Linked DNA regions of Homo sapiens: regions 1 and 3 are each linked to region 2. Evidence: promoter capture Hi-C in 16 types of primary human blood cells and fetal thymus (Javierre and others, 2016). All regions are on one chromosome and are shown on one strand. The core of a region is centred on a gene start or on the middle of the fragment in contact, and the rest is flanking DNA. Distances in the headings are between cores, read along the strand shown. Region 1 overlaps MTMR1 (myotubularin related protein 1). Region 2 holds the start of CETN2 (centrin 2). Region 3 overlaps MTMR1 (myotubularin related protein 1).

The links. The method cuts DNA at HindIII sites, captures the fragments that hold promoters and counts their contacts. A CHiCAGO score of 5 or more calls a contact.
Region 1: a fragment that was not itself captured here is called in contact with the fragment with the promoter of CETN2 in region 2 in 1 of 17 cell types (M0 macrophages); the score reaches 5.1 in M0 macrophages.
Region 3: a fragment that was not itself captured here is called in contact with the fragment with the promoter of CETN2 in region 2 in 2 of 17 cell types (M0 macrophages and M2 macrophages); the score reaches 6.5 in M0 macrophages.

Annotation. Positions count from the first base shown.
Region 1 is chrX:150,752,694-150,755,393 of GRCh38, forward strand. All of the region lies in intron 14 of MTMR1 (myotubularin related protein 1), which reads left to right. Among named protein-coding and RNA genes, the nearest start is that of MTMR1, 61 kb to the left of the region's middle. The HindIII fragment of the contact is 6,912 bases long and covers 1-2,700 here.
Region 2 is chrX:152,829,261-152,832,070 of GRCh38, forward strand. It overlaps CETN2 (centrin 2), which reads right to left and starts at 1,497. Exons shown (of 5, transcript NM_004344.3): 1 at 1,448-1,497; 2 at 342-500; 3 at 1-17. The coding sequence starts at 1,450. It overlaps NSDHL (NAD(P) dependent 3-beta-hydroxysteroid dehydrogenase NSDHL), which reads left to right and starts at 1,803. Exons shown (of 8, transcript NM_015922.3): 1 at 1,803-1,857. RefSeq lists a silencer at 1,397-1,736. The HindIII fragment of the contact is 2,163 bases long and covers 616-2,778 here.
Region 3 is chrX:150,730,783-150,733,482 of GRCh38, forward strand. It overlaps MTMR1 (myotubularin related protein 1), which reads left to right. Exons shown (of 16, transcript NM_001306144.3): 9 at 688-837; 10 at 1,760-1,948. Among named protein-coding and RNA genes, the nearest start is that of MTMR1, 39 kb to the left of the region's middle. The HindIII fragment of the contact is 949 bases long and covers 950-1,898 here.

The sequences.
Region 1 (2,700 bases), core at 13-2,512, 2.1 Mb before region 2:
GACACATAATTTACATACCATAAAATTCACCCATCTAAAATGTACAATTTCATGGTTCTAGCATATTCACATATTGTGCAGCCATCATCAATATTTAATTTCATAAAATCTCTTTATTTCTATTTTTTGTAGCGATTGGGGTCTTGCTGTGTTGCCCAGGCTGGTCTCAAACTCCTGGCCTCAAGTGATGTTCCCGCCTCGGCCTCCCAAAGTGCTGGGATTATAGGTGTAAGCCACTGTGCCTGGCCTAAGTTTATAAAATTTCTGTCACCCCCAAAAGAAATGGCATACTTGGTAGCAATCACTTCCCATTTCCCCCACCCCTATCCCCTAGCAACCATCAATCTGCTTTCTGTCTCTACGGATTTGCCAATTCTGGACATTTCATAGAAATGGAATTATACAATAGGTGAACTTATATGACTGTCTTCCTTTGCTTAGCGTAATGTTTTCAAGGTTCATCTATGCACCAATACATCCTTTTTATGGCTGAGCAATATTCCGTTATATGGATAGACCACATTTTGTTTATCCATTCATTGGTTGATAGAAATTTGGATTGTTTCCACATTTTGGTTTTTAGGAATAATGCTACTATAACTATTCATGTACAGGTTTTTATGTGGACATACGCCTTCATTCATTTATACCTACGAGTGGAATTGCCGGGTCATGTGGCAATTATGTTTAACCTATTGAGGAACTGCCAGATTGTTTTCCAAAGCAGTTGCACACACGAGCAATGTCTGAGGCTTCCAATTTCTCCACATTTCACCAACGCTTACTATTTTCCTTTTTAAAAAAATTATAGCCATCCTAGTGAGTGGGAAGTGGTATGTTGTGGTTTTAGATTTGCATTTCCCCAACGACTAATGATGTTGAGCATATTTCCATGTGCTTATTGGCCATTTGCATATCTTCTGTGGAGAATGTGTATTCAGCTCCTTAGTTCATTTTAAAATTGTGGTGTTTGTCCTTTTTATTATGGAGTTGTAAGAGTTCCTTATACATTCTTTATATATTCAAGTCCCTTATAAGATACATGATTTGCAAAAATTTTCTCCCACTCTAGGGGTTGTTTTTTTTTACTTTCTTCATGGTGTTCTTTGAAGCACAAAAGTTTTTAATTTTGATGAACTGCAATTTATCTATTTTTTCTCTTGCTGCTTACACTTTTGGTATCATATCTAAGAAACCATTGCTTAACCCAAAGTCATGAAGATTTGCTCCTGTTTTCTTCTAAGAGCTTTATACTTTTAGGTCTTACATTTAGGTCTGTGATCTGTTCTGAGGTAACGTTTGTATACGGTGTGAATTAAGGATCCAACTTCATTCTTTTGTGTGTTGGCTATCTAGCTGTCCCAGCACCATTTGTTGGAAAGATTTTCTTTCCCTCATTCAATTTTCTTGCCAACCTTGTTGAAGATCAGTTGACCGTAAATGTCAGAGAGTTCATTTCTGTGCTTTCTATTCTGTTCCATTGATCTGCATGTCTGTCCTTACGCCAGCACTGCTGGCATTGATTACTGTAGCTTTGTGGTAAGTTTTGAAAATGGGAAGTATGAGTCCTCCTACTTTGTTCTTTTTCAGGATTATTTTAGCTATTCCAGATCCTTTGAATTTTTGTTGGTGTTTCTCTTATAAATAAATAAATGTATACAAATTGAAATGGTCCTAATTGAATGTTCCTGTATTTAGATAGCTCATGGGAAGTCAGCAGCAGAGTGGGAGAAAATGCTGTTGGCCTTGCCGTTTTCTCATTTGACTTTGTCATTGTGCTTGATCCATTGTTTAACGTTTACCTGCCTCACCATGCCTGCACATTTGGGTGTTTTTGTTCAGATGAGCAATGCAAGTAGGTACAGTGTTTCTGAATAGTGTACTACAAAATTAGGGGAAGAAGAGATAACTTAGTGATATATTTACTTGTCTTTATAGAGCTTCTCCAGCCTGCACCACAGCACATTGTCCTCCAGATAGCTATGATTTTCCAGCACAAGGAACCTTAACTGTAAAATCTATTCTCATTTCTCAATATTAAGAGTCACAGCCAGGTGAGGTGGCTCATGCCTGTAATCCCAGCACTCTGGGAGGCCGAGGTGGGAGGATCACTTGAGGTCAAGAGTTCGAAACCAGCCTGGGCAACACAGTGAATCCCCATCTCCGCCAAAAAATACAAAAATTAGCCGGGCATGGTGGCGTGCGCCTGTAGTCCCCAGCTACTCGGGAGGCTGAGGCAGGAAAATTGCTTGAACCCGGGAGGCAGACATTGCAGTGAGCTGAGATCATGCCACTGCACTCCAGCCTGGGTGACAGAGTGAGACTCCATCTCAAAAAAAAAAAAAAAAAAAGGAGTCACAAAAGCTCTATTTTCTTTTAGAGGCAGGGTCTTGCTCTATTGCCCAGGCTGGAGTACAGCGGCACAATCATAGCTCACTACAGCCTCAAACTCCTGGCCTCAAGCAATTCTGCCACCTCAGCCTCCTGAGGAGCTGGGACTATACTTGGCTAATCTTTAAATTTATTTTTTTTGTAGAGACAAAGTCTCACTGTGTTGCCCAGGCTAGTCTCAAACTCCTGCCTCAAGCAGTCCTCGCAATGTGGCCTCCCAAAGTGCTGGCCTTATAGGCTTGAGCTACTGTGCCCAGCCTACAAAAGCAAACCTTACACCAGAATTCAAAATTATATTTGTTATTGGTG
Region 2 (2,810 bases), core at 247-2,746:
AGGGCCCTCATTGCCACCTATAAAGAAAACAGGATCGTCTCAATAAGCACATCTAAAGTAGCAGGAGCAAAAATAACAGTGTTGAGAGCATTAAGCCAGCATCTGATGTGGTCATGTTAATATGATTGGGGAACACTATGACATTGATCTAATTGATATTTGCAATCAATTTTATTGAATAATACTCAAAGTAAGTAAAGACAGGAAAACAGCACAGTACAACCTCCCCTGTTACTTACTGCAGGGAGAAGAGGGCAAAAGGGGTAGAGAGGTGATAGGGAGATGACAAGGAAGAGGCAGAGGAAAGGAAGGGCAGTACGGCAGGAATGCACAGAGCTTGCCTTCAGTTCTTTAACATCTATGGTGCCAGTTCCATCCGCATCGAAAAGATCAAAAGCTTCCCGGATCTCCTGCTTTTGCTCTTCAGTAAGCTCAGGCTTAGGGCTCATTCTTTTTCGCTGAGAACTTGATGCCATGTTTGCCTTCTTAAAGTTGGAGGCCTTTATATGTTATGCAATACACAAGCACAATAATATATCATACAGTCCATATTTACATAACATAGTTACAGACACCCATATGTATTTTTAAAGTCATTTATATAACCAATTCCAAAGCTTTGCTTAAAAAGAAAGATAACAGGGTTTACTGGCAAGAACAATGAATCTTTCCATGAACTTCTACCCCTCCCTTTTCTTTACTGTTGTTTCTAGAAGCAGGGAGATCACTTGTTCAGTAAGGACACCTCTTACTGAAAATCATCCCAAAAGAGAGCCAGTCAAGAAGATGACTGTGAATAACTAGAGATAATCAGCTCTTCCCGAACGTGGGGATCCTGGTTCTGAAAACAGTCTTACGATGCCCACTCCCAGTACTCCCCTTCCCAGTAAGTACTCCGACTTCCCAATTACTTCTAGATTTGGCCAAATATTAGTAAGTTGTTAAGATGTATATTGTGTCAGTACCGAGTAATAAAACTCAATCCATCTGGCACCTTCGTGCCTTCTCCAAGAAGCTAAAGCATCCCCTGAATGCCCCTGTATTTAAATTGTAAAAAACATTGTAACAGAACACGATACACCTTTTCCCAGCTGTGTGTGGAAATTTTGGCAGAATGAGGAGGCCAGGGGGCCAAGGTCTGAGAGAGTCAGGGGCCTGTGAGGGATTCGAGTCTTTTTTGCCCAGGGAGGTTCACCGAGGGGATCAGGGAATGCAAGGGGAGCCCGAGGGGCGGGTGTGGGCCTGTTGTGGGTGAAGAGGAGGCAGCAGCGAAGCGCAGGCCCAGTAGGTTGGTTAGCGTCTGTACCCTACTCTCCCGGGAAAGAGCTCAAAGGAAAGACTGGTGCGCTAAAGCCGAGAAAGGCGCAGGAGAGGCGGCGTGGCCGAGCTGGGGCCTGGGAAGGGCTCAGCCGCTGGGCGTGGGGCGCGACAGAGCGGCAGCACTCACCATAGCCAAAGGAGTCCGCTGCCGGTTGTTAGGCAACCGACGTGTACACTGACTCGGCGCCGTTCCCACCGCCCCGCGCGCGCAGCCCCGCTCCCCATTGGCCGTCCGCTCGTCGCCGCCTCTCCCTATTGGTGCAGGGCCGAAGAGGGTGGGACTAACCTGGCAAAGCCCCGGCCCAGCGCGGGGAGGGGCACGCTGGCGACAGAGCCCCGTCTTTATTGGGCAAGATCACGCCGTGAGCGCCAATTGGCTGAGTCGTCGCCGAGCTGGGCCAATCCTCTTGGTGGAGGAAGCTCGGCTGATTCTCGGCTCACGCGGGAGGGGAGTAAAGGGTGGCGGTCCGGGCCTGGAGTTCAGTGGGTGCAGCCTGCTTGCGAGCTGAGGCCAGACAGGGGGGCGCCTACGGACGGGTAAGAGTCGTGGCCTTGCCATTGGAGGTCACCCTGTGTCAGCGACTGGGCAGTGCGGGAGGGTGGGGAGCTACGGGGTCGCCCGGGTCGGGTGCTTTCTGGGTTGACCTAAGGCTGAGTTTAGGGACCGAGTGCATCAGAGCAGCCAGAAACGATTACCTTGCGTGTTGGAGCAGGGACTGTACTCACGGGGCAACTGAGACCCGGAGAGGGGAAGGGGTGTGCTGAGTGTTGTCGCAGAGGTCGGACGGCTGGGACCTAGGAACTGAATCCAGCCGAGGCTCGCTCTTTGAGGGTGGCCCTTCGAGAGCACCCCTAGACTGACCCAGATGTATAGGCCCCAGACCAGGTTCCAAGAGAGGATCACTTTAGATCTTACCTGGCTAAAAGCAGCCCAGGACGGTGAACTGGGGCCTTTGGGAACGGACTTTGAAAGGAGTGAGGGGGATGTGAGCGAGCATGAGGGGCGGGGAGAGGTCATCAAAATATACTCTTTTTGACACCCACACAATGCAGATAAGGAGGAGCATTCCAGGCCGAGACGCCCTCATCAGCAGAGTCACAGGAGTTTTGGAAGTGAGAGGTATGCTTGGAGAATTAAAAGGGAGCGTGTGCAAGGGCTGTGGACTGACATAGACCTGCAGAAGTGGAGCTGGAGGTCCAGTTTGCCCTCTTTAGCTATCCCCGTGGCTTTTAGCCTTCACCTGTTTTTCCTCCAGGCATAGGGGCAGTAATCTAGGGAGACAGAGGGCAGAGAGTAAGTTTCTCAGACAGAGAAAGGCCCGAGGCTTATTAGAACCTTTTAAATGGAGCTGCTGCCCTTTGCCCTCTTCTCTCTTCAGCAGTGAACAGATTCCTGACTTTTGGGTCATCATCATCCCCCCAAGTAGTACGAGCCAGAGTTCTCACTGTGATCTCCAAAGCTTGGCACGACGTGTCCCCTTCCATCGCTC
Region 3 (2,700 bases), core at 174-2,673, 2.1 Mb before region 2:
ACCTTAGACTTTGTCATGTTTGTTCATCCTGTTTCCAGAGGGTGAGTGGGACTCAAGGACAAGGACGGGTTTAAAAACCAAATTTGCCAGATGGTTTTTATTAGATGTTCTGGTAAAGAATTGATGAGTAAGGATCCAAACCACTGACTACAGTTAGATTCGAAGCATGTGGTGTGACTACATCTGTCTGATCCAGTGTTCCCGGGTCTGGGAACTCTTCAGTGCATTGTCAGCTTCAAATTATTCCACTAAGATCTTATTTTCATGACGTTTGTTTCATGACGTTGTCTCTACCTTATATTTGGTATAATGTTTTACGTTACTTATTTTAGACATTCGTAAGAGGTATCTGTGTTTCTAAAGGACTTTTGAGTATATTCTCAAAAATAACAGAGCTCATTATTTATAGAAAATAGGACAAGAAATATATAGAAATGTGATTCTAGCGTATAATTTTCATGTTTTAGTATGGTTTGGATATTCTTATGCTTCTTTAGATTTTTAGAAATGTCTAGGAAATGGGTTTTACCGAATAAATATATATATTGACTTTTAAGTTACAATAAACAATAAATTATAAACGGATTTTAGTTGCAAATAAGAAATGGATGTACTTCATGCTTAGTACTTTTTCAAAGTGTAAAGTCATGCATTTCACCCTCTTCTTCTTTCTCCAACACCTTACAGGGCTTGCCAAATGAGAGTTGGAAAATATCCAAAATAAACAGTAATTATGAGTTCTGTGACACCTACCCTGCCATCATTGTTGTGCCAACTAGTGTAAAAGATGATGACCTTTCAAAAGTGGCAGCTTTTCGAGCAAAAGGCAGAGTCCCTGTAAGTAATAAACATTGTCATTTATATAGGAATATATATTGCGTTAGATCTAATATGGAGAGATTTAAGACAAAAAAGAAACTAGTGAACAAAAATGGAAAGCAGAAAAATAAGCTTATAAACCTGAACATACCTTTGATTCTCAACAAATACCTAATTATATAAACAATCTGTTTGCTATGACTCCCTCTTTTACGATTTCCTATAACTAAGTATAAGGGGAACTTCAGTCATACCCTCAAAAAGTAGTAGAGAATGACAAAGGAGTAGCAACAACAAGTTATCATGCTATTGTATTACCAGTTGGCATTGCTGGTTTCACTGAATCATCCTAGAGAAAATGCTTCTTTCTTAGATACTGAGCATGATGCCATAGCTGCGTGGGAGGGACATCATTACAGAAGTAGTAGCAGACAGCTGGGAGTAATGGTTTGAGCCCAGAGTTTGCATCTGTTGTAATCCTGAGTCACTTGGCCACTGGAGGAAAATGAGAGGTGGGGTGGCAGAGTGTCAGATTTTATAAGAGACTGTATATTCACTTTGTCCTTACCCTGCCACGTATATTATTGTTGAGATACAAAGATGTTTTTAAAATTAGGAGACAAGGTAAAATTAGTCAATCAAATTGGAATGGGGCTAGATTTTAGTAATAGTTTGATTTAGGATTTGTTTTTCTTAGAATCATAGAATATTGGGGATGGAAGGGGATTTTTAGAGCTCATGTAGTCAGAATTGTTTCATCCTGACCAAAACATTGAGTCTGATGGCCACTACAATGCTGTGATTGGCCTGCCCACTCTCACTTTTGAAGAAAATATGTATAAGAGACCGTGCTTGAGAAGGGAACTTGTTTTTCCTACCAGGTAATTAGAGCATACATTCTTTAGGAACTGTACTAATATTTATTGCTTAAAAACACTAGGTGTTGTCATGGATTCATCCGGAAAGTCAAGCAACGATTACCCGTTGCAGCCAGCCACTTGTGGGTCCCAATGATAAGCGCTGCAAAGAGGATGAAAAATACTTGCAAACAATAATGGATGCTAACGCACAGTCACACAAGCTTATCATCTTTGATGCTCGACAAAACAGTGTCGCTGATACCAACAAGGTATATTCTTAATAGCACTGCAGAAACACTGGATATTTTCATGTCCTGTCTGTAAATCATTATGCAGTTGGAATAACTCATTGATTTCCTCACCACCTGAAGTTAGAATCATTTGGAGTCCCATAGCTATTCCTCCCTGGTGTATGCTCCTTGGGCTGTGTTTGGTGTCTCACATGGGTTGGGATCTTGTCTGTTTCATTGCTTCTCTACAATATCCTGTCTGCTAAATCAATTAAGTAAAGACCTAGAAAGACAATTATCATCTAAAGGATTTAGCATTTTAATGAAATGATCGTGAGGTCCTTGGAAGTCCGTTTAAGGAATATAGTGGTTAGTTGATTAATTCATGTCTGGTCTGAATTTCTTTTAGAATGGAATCAGCCATGTGAAATGTGTAAATGTACAAAGTTTCCATAAATCTCATGGAGCACCTGTGTAGTGTACCTCGGGTGGCAGTGAGACATGGTTAAAAACACCTCCGTTCCCATGACTTTCATGATATCACACCCTGAGTTTCTCTCGCTCTTCAGCCTGGCCTTCTCCATCTCCTTCACTGATTTCTCTTCCCAGTCTTCAAATGGCATTGCTCCTCGAACTTGGTCTGGGGTCCTCTTTGCTCTACACAGACTCCTGGGGCCATCTCTGATGACACGGCTTTAAACACTGTCTGTATGCTGAGTTCAACTTGAGCTTGACACTGCAGTTTCTCTCCTGTCCTGATCCCTCCTAAGGTTGAGACTGGATTTCTATCC